2 separate regions of the Homo sapiens genome follow, and region 1 is linked to region 2. The links are contacts of gene promoters, found by promoter capture Hi-C in blood cells and fetal thymus (Javierre and others, 2016). All regions are on one chromosome and are shown on one strand. The core of a region is centred on a gene start or on the middle of the fragment in contact, and the rest is flanking DNA. Distances in the headings are between cores, read along the strand shown.

Evidence for each region. The method cuts DNA at HindIII sites, captures the fragments that hold promoters and counts their contacts. A CHiCAGO score of 5 or more calls a contact.
Region 1: a fragment that was not itself captured here is called in contact with the fragment with the promoter of LRRC74A in region 2 in 1 of 17 cell types (neutrophils); the score reaches 6.7 in neutrophils.

Annotation. Positions count from the first base shown.
Region 1 is chr14:77,127,327-77,130,675 of GRCh38, forward strand. No RefSeq gene overlaps it. Among named protein-coding and RNA genes, the nearest start is that of ZDHHC22, 13 kb to the right of the region's middle. The HindIII fragment of the contact is 5,677 bases long and covers 1-3,349 here.
Region 2 is chr14:76,824,295-76,827,830 of GRCh38, forward strand. LRRC74A (leucine rich repeat containing 74A) reads left to right here and starts at 2,114. Exons shown (of 14, transcript NM_001385106.1): 1 at 2,114-2,440. The coding sequence starts at 2,404. The HindIII fragment of the contact is 9,425 bases long and covers 1-3,536 here.

The DNA of each region.
Region 1 (3,349 bases), core at 82-2,581, 300 kb after region 2:
GTGCCTTTATTTATTTATTTTTTTACCTGGAACGTCAGGGTTATAATAAAACATACCTTGTAGGATTGCTATGAGGAATACATGAGTTAATACAGATAAAGTGTGTACAGGACAAGCACCTGGCATGTAGGGAAGGCTCAGCAAATCTTGGTCATTGTTACCAGCAGTAGAATGACTGTATCAACAATGTTAGTGTCCTACACCATGCTAGGGACAGGGGGAAACTAAAGGATTCCACCATCTCCATTTCTGCTTTCCAAGGGCATGCAGTAGTTAGGAGACAAAACCTACAGGAGAGAGTAAGAGTGACAGAGAGCTGCCAACAGTAGTGGGAGTTTGAAATAGAAGGTTTCCAGGGGGCTGGACCAATTGAAGAAAGGTCCTATGGAGAAGTGCGATGTGGAGGAGGGGCTGGGAGGGGCCTAGGCTAAAGGAGGAGGCATGCTGGGGCCACCAGGTTACAGGATGTGGGGAGGTGCCCACCAGGGTGCAGAGGTCCACGCAGAGAGCTGCCTTGCCAGTCCAGATGGGGCACTGTACATAACAAAAGGTCACTGCTTACATCTCAGGGTTCCAGCCTTTCCAGTTCTATTGTAAGTCCTGGAAGCCATCTTGCTAGGAATGGTGTCCTTCCAATGCCATTTGCTGAGGCTGTGCAGGAAGGCAAGAGTGATGGGGAGCTCCCAGAGACCCCTCTTTGGGCCCAGAGAAGACTAGGAATCTCTGATGTTCCCAGGTGAGCTCTAGCATCTTTGGGCTGATTCTCTGGAAAATGAACTTAACCTTCTACCTTTGATCGCCAACCTGGAGACTTGCGGATCCTTTAGAAAAACTAGACATCAGTTCATGCTTGACTCATCCAAACGGACACCATGAGCTGGTGTGAGTTAGGGTTTTCTAAGAAGTGATCAGAGGAAGGAGGCAGGGTCCATGGGGAGCGTGGCCTGAGGACAAACCTGCAGTTGTGGCTGCAGGTATGTGCTCACATCCCACCATTCCTAAATGCAGACTTGCAATTCCCAGAAACCACCTGGTATCTCTGCCTCTGTATAGTCCCTCCTACCTCCACTCCCACCCACAGCCCTGCTTTTCTGCCTGGCCCCCTCCTATTCATCCTGCATGACCCAGATGTTGCCTTTTCTGGGAAGCCTTCAGGTCCGCCCTGGTAAAGTAAGTGCTCTCCGCCAGGCTTCTGTAGCACCCTGTCCTCCCATCGGCACTTTCATGCCACTGAATCACAACCATCTGCAATTTGTTCTCTTCCTAGTGAGCTCCCTGAGATCAGGTACTGGGTCTCTTTCATCTTTGCATTCCTGGTTCTTGGCATCATGCCTGGCATAGAGTCAGCATCGATGAATGTTTTTGAAGAATGAGTGGAGGAGCTGGGCCAGTACCATGAATAGAGAGGGGAATGAGAGCAGAAGCAGAGGCCAACACCAGGAGCAACTGAGCTACTCCCAGACACCTCCCGCCCCCACCAGCAGGCTCACTGTGGCTGGTGAGCAGGCCCAAGGTTCTGCCTCATCTTTAACGTGTCTCAGATAAGTTAGGAGAAATGCCTCCTCTCTCCCTGCCCATCCTTCCTTTTCTTCCTGGCAGGAGGGGCTGCTTCCCAAGCATCCCCGAGGGCATGCTGAGAGGCAGGGCAGGAGGGAGATGAGGGGGAATCTCATGAGCAATGAGGCCAGTTGGAGGACACTGGGTACAGACAAAAGCCACAGTATTTGGAGGACCAAATGCATGGACAGTAACAAGGACAGTCATCTTCCTAAGGAGAAAGACTGGCTAACAGATGGTCCCTGGGACCTAAGGACTGACTTGTTACAGTGGAGGGGGACCTGGGTTGAAGTCTCCTCAAGTTTGTTGTCTTTCCAAAACTCCTTGGGTTCCTGGAGCTTAGAGTGAGGCAGTTCCTGCCTTGCCTAATCTGACACTAGGGCATGGGTCAAAGCAGAGTGTACCCACTTTCTGGATGGAAAGCATCTCACTCCAGCACATGGGCCTGAGGACCCATGATCTCTATTGGCACTGACAGATGATTCTACCCCTGCTGTGGGAGTCAGAGAGCTGTGCTGTAAAGAATGACTGGCAGATGTCCCTGAACCCCTTCCTCCATGGACGCAGAGTGGTTAGTTAAGAATGACACCATCAACTGCCATCTGACGGGCCAACGACAGAGGCTAGTGCATGAGATGGCCCTGAACCCTAGTGTCACAATCTTTTCCACCCCAATCCTCCTAACAATCACCCCGTTTTCACCTTCAGGGCCATCTTGGGCCCCCTCCCTAGCATTCCTCTACTCATGCTCCATGTCTGTGAAGTGCCTCTGATATCTTTCCCCTCTTTACCATCCCACAACCACTATCCCCACCCGGATCCCGGTTACATCTCACTGAGATATAGTACATGCCTCTTACCAGGTCCCTCAACCTCCAGTTTCTCCCACTTCCAGTCTATCCTCCAAGGCTGCGCTTTCTGAAATCTACCTCTGATCATGCTGCTCTCTTGCTCAGAACTTTCAGTGGTTCCCTATTGCCTGTCAAATGCCCTCCAGGTCCCTTAGCTTGGCATTCAGAGCCCTCTCTGCTTGGGTCCCTACTCTCAGCCTTAACCTCCTCTGCCTCTTTGTGATATCCCTTATACCCCAAGGCCCAGGCCTGTTCTCTGTCCCTGGAAAGCCCTCCCTGTCCCTCTTTGCCTGCTGAAATCTCATCCATCTTTCCAGGCCCCGTATCATGGAAAGGCCCCAGACCTAGCAGCAGAATGTGCTCTCTCCCTCCTCTGAGCACTCCCAGAAACCTCTGCCAGAATGGGAACTCCTCGAAGAGAGAGTGGTCTCATCTGTTTTCTAGCCCCACGATGTGCAAAGTGCAGTCCTGGGTCCAGCATGGGAATAAGAGATGTGGAGTAAGCATGTGAGCGCTAAATCTGCATCATTCAGGCAATATTCATTGAGCACCTACTGTGTGCCTAGCCCCTGCTACGCATCAAGGATATGACAGTGACCAAGGCAAGTGTGGTGCCTGCCCCATGGAGTGTAGGCAGCCCATGTTCTAGAATGTGCTGAGGATTCACCACAGCTCCATTCACCCAGCACCTGCAGCAAAGCTGTTCGCCTGTTGGTGTGTGTTCAGGGAACATACACCACCATGACACTCGGCTAGGCTGAGGGTTCTGCAACAGCTCTTTGCAGTTGTATCCTTCCTCAGTCCAGGCCTTGTGTCTTTAGGATGAATCAGAGGCCTTGCTCATTCGTCTGCTCAGGGCCCACTGCCTGAAAGGCTCAACACCCTCCCAACTGTCCCCAGGGCTGGGAAGCCTGAGACCTCCAGATGTTGCAGGGCCTGAG
Region 2 (3,536 bases), core at 864-3,363:
ATTACATTTCAGGGTTTTTAAAAAATACACATTTTTGGCCGGGTGTGGTGGCTCACACCTGTAATCCCAGCACTTTGGGAGGCCAAGGCTGGCGGATTATGAGGTCCGGAGATCGACACCATCCTGGCTAACACAATGAAACCCTGTCTCTACTAAAAATACAAAAAATTAGCTGGGCGTGGTAGCGCATGCCTGTAGTCCCAGCTACTTAGGAGGCTGAGGCAGGAGAATGGCGTGAACCCGGGAGGCGGAGCTTGCAGTGAGCTGAGATTGCGCCACTGCACTCCAGCCTGGGCGACAGAGTGAGACTCCATCTCAAAAAAAGAAAAAAAAAGAATTAAAAAAAATTATGGTCCTTAAACATTTTTATTTTTTCCAGAATTGACTATTATGCAAAAAATATTGCTGTCAACCATTCTAAAGAAAATATCTGATGATGTCACTCTCCTGTTCAAAAATCTTCATTGTCTCCCTATTGCCTTTTAATTGCATTCGGATCTCTCCCTGAAGCTGCCCTGGCCCTGGTGGCCTCCCCTTCTGCTACTCGTCTTCACAGCCTGCACTCCTATGCGGGGAGCTGCTGCCTTCCTTCATCCTGACCTCCTGGAAATGCCTTTTCCCCAGACTCTACTTGTCCAGAGCCCAAGCAAGTTCCCCAATATGAAGAAACCTCACCCTCCCCTGAACGCCCAGCGCATTTCCCCAAAGACCCATCTCAGTTTCCCTGCTGCTGTTGGATCCAGGCTGGTGGTGCCTCTATCCAGTGGCTTAGTTGGAGCACCTACCTCTAGATTTTCTCACTCACCCTTCAGTACCTGAGACCAGATGGTGCCGTCCAAGTAGAGCACCCAGAGCCCTAGACCAGGACACACATGCTCTCTGATCCCTCTTTCTCCCCCTTAATGCTTCCTTATCCTCTGCAATAGTGTGGGCCAGCCAGATGCCCTGAGGATCACCAGGACTCATGTCTACCTGATCATCCTAGGAGCTGATCACTCTCCCTGGACTGTTTGGTATTTCTTTAGAAGGACCACATGAGATTGGGCCACCAGAATGGTGCTGCCATGCCGATTTAGGGTGACTCAAATTGTTTATACAAGCAAGAACTCTACCAAAAATATTTGCCCAGGACCCTCACCCTAGGGTGGCCCTGTCAATTTCTATTATGCATTGCACATGCCTTAAAAGGGTCCTGTCTTAATCATGTCTGCATCCCTTCCCCACAGTGGTGCCTATTTTAGCGCCCGTACGTAATAGAGACTCAATATGTATTTCTCAGCATGAATGCTTGAAGGAACAAGTAACATCTCAGGTATACATATTTCTTCTGATCCATGGTTCTAATCATGTTTTCCTTGCACACATTTCTAGATCTTCCTCATTCTGAGTAGCAAAAAAAAAAAAAAAAAAAAGGAATTTTCACATCCTCAAACCCTCCAGTCACTGACCTGACCATTGATGTCCTGAAAACTTATCAAGAAAGAACAAATGTGCCTCCAGATTCTCCCGAAACCAAACTGCAACTGGACTTCAACTCCAACACATGTGAGAATGGCCGAGTGTGGGAATGCTAGTTGAACCGTCTCAAGGTAGGCAGCCCCATAGTTTGGATTGAACAATGCTTTGGCTGCAACAAACTGTAGTGATAGGACATATGTTCATTGCGCTGTGCTTTTGATCTTCAGCTCCAAGGTTAAGATGCTCTCCCACGGGGAAAAGAAAAAAGGAAGAAGAGCTGGGCAGAAGAAAACTGACTTCACCCGTCACTGAAATACTTCATACCTGAAGCACAGCTCTCTTGCGAGAAGAACATGATGGCAGCTCTTCACAGTCACCTAATTAAGGGGCTTGGGTTGGGTCCTGACTCAGAGGGAAATACAACACCACTGAGAGGAACCCCCCACAGCACCTGAGCACTCACAGCCAAGCCTGGGCTTGGCCCCAGTAGACATATGAGAACAGGTGACTGCCAGAACCACCCAGAGGGCGGGAAGCCTGCTGTTGCCAGGTCCACCATGTGAATCACAATGACTGCATGAGGTCACAGAATGTTGAAGATGAAATGAAAGTGGCTCCTGAGTCACAAAGTCACAGGCGGGTGGGGATCCTTTCAACAGGGCTCCCAGCAATAGAGCAGTCCCACTCTCCCAGATGAGCTGGAGAAGTAGCTACCTCTCCCAGACAGAGTTGGGGTCAAATTCATGCACATCCAATTCCCATCAAAGCCTACTCTTCCCAGGGCTTGCTGGGAGGGAAGGATAACTGCAGGCTCCCCTGGGATGCCCCCAGGTGAGGGAAGTTCACAGAGTTTGAGACAGAGGTGAATGGACAGGTGTGCTTCTTAGGGAAGCAGTCGAGAGGTGGCAAGAAGTTGGCAGCTGCCCTCAAGAGGGTCCTGGCACCATGGACAATGACAAGCCTCTTCAGCCTGAGACAGAAGGTGAAAGGGCATCCCATCTCTCACCACTCAGGCCCGTCCCTGCTGCCTCAGTACAACACCTAGTGATCACAGGACCCTGAAGCCCACTTCTTTCCTCACCTGGGACCCTCTAGAAGTAGGATGATTTGTTATACTGACTTGGGTTCAGGCCTTGGCAAACAGGAAGAATTGGCTGCAGTGCTATGCCACAACTACCTCATACTGGCTCTAGCCAGCTTTAATTTTTATTGTGTGGGCCAGTTGATACCACATTTATAGTTTGAAATCAGTCACATTGGGAATATTTACACCACATGAATTGGCTAACACTATAAATCAGGATGTTTTTGGTGTTGTTTGTTTTTTTTCCTGGAGAATCAATTGTTAAAATTTACCAGCATTCTACTGGTTGAATGGAATTCTAAATTGTTTGACAAGGAAATTAACACTCAGAAATTCATCACTTTTCTAAGGGCACTCAGCAGTCTGACAGCCAAGCTGTTGTCTGTCTTCTAACTACCAGGCCACTGCTACCTGCACTGTGTATCCCAGACAGTCTGGGAGATAAATGTTGGAACCTGGGTCTATGGACAAGGATTAAGAAAGACCTGCATGGACTCATTAGGAACCCCACCATCCTAGAATCTGGGTGGTCAAAACTTGGGACCCCTGCCACAAATGCTCAGCCCACCCAATGAGTAGGTTGGCTAAATTCTGACAGGTCATTCAGAGGCATGGCATGGCTTCTTGAAACTACTGAGTCCTGTCAGTGCCTAAGGATTGAGCTCTGGATTTTATGTGTGGCTTCCAGAAGCCCATGGCTTTCAGGAGCCTATGGCTGATCCCAGGTCAATGGCCCAGAGGTGGTAAAACCACATCTAGCAAGTGCAGAGGACTGGTGTGAGGGGAGCTCTGTTCCCAGCAATGAATATGATTAATTCATTACTATGAATTAATCATAGTAATTCATTTCGACCCAAGGGAGATTTTCAAGCCCCTCCTTCTTCCTAATCACAAATCAATGTTAGATTGGAAGGAAGAGAAGCTAAGTCAAATTCTTAGGAATCAAGTTCTCTCTCTTGCTCTCTGGAACTGCTCCTGGTCCATTTTATTTTCT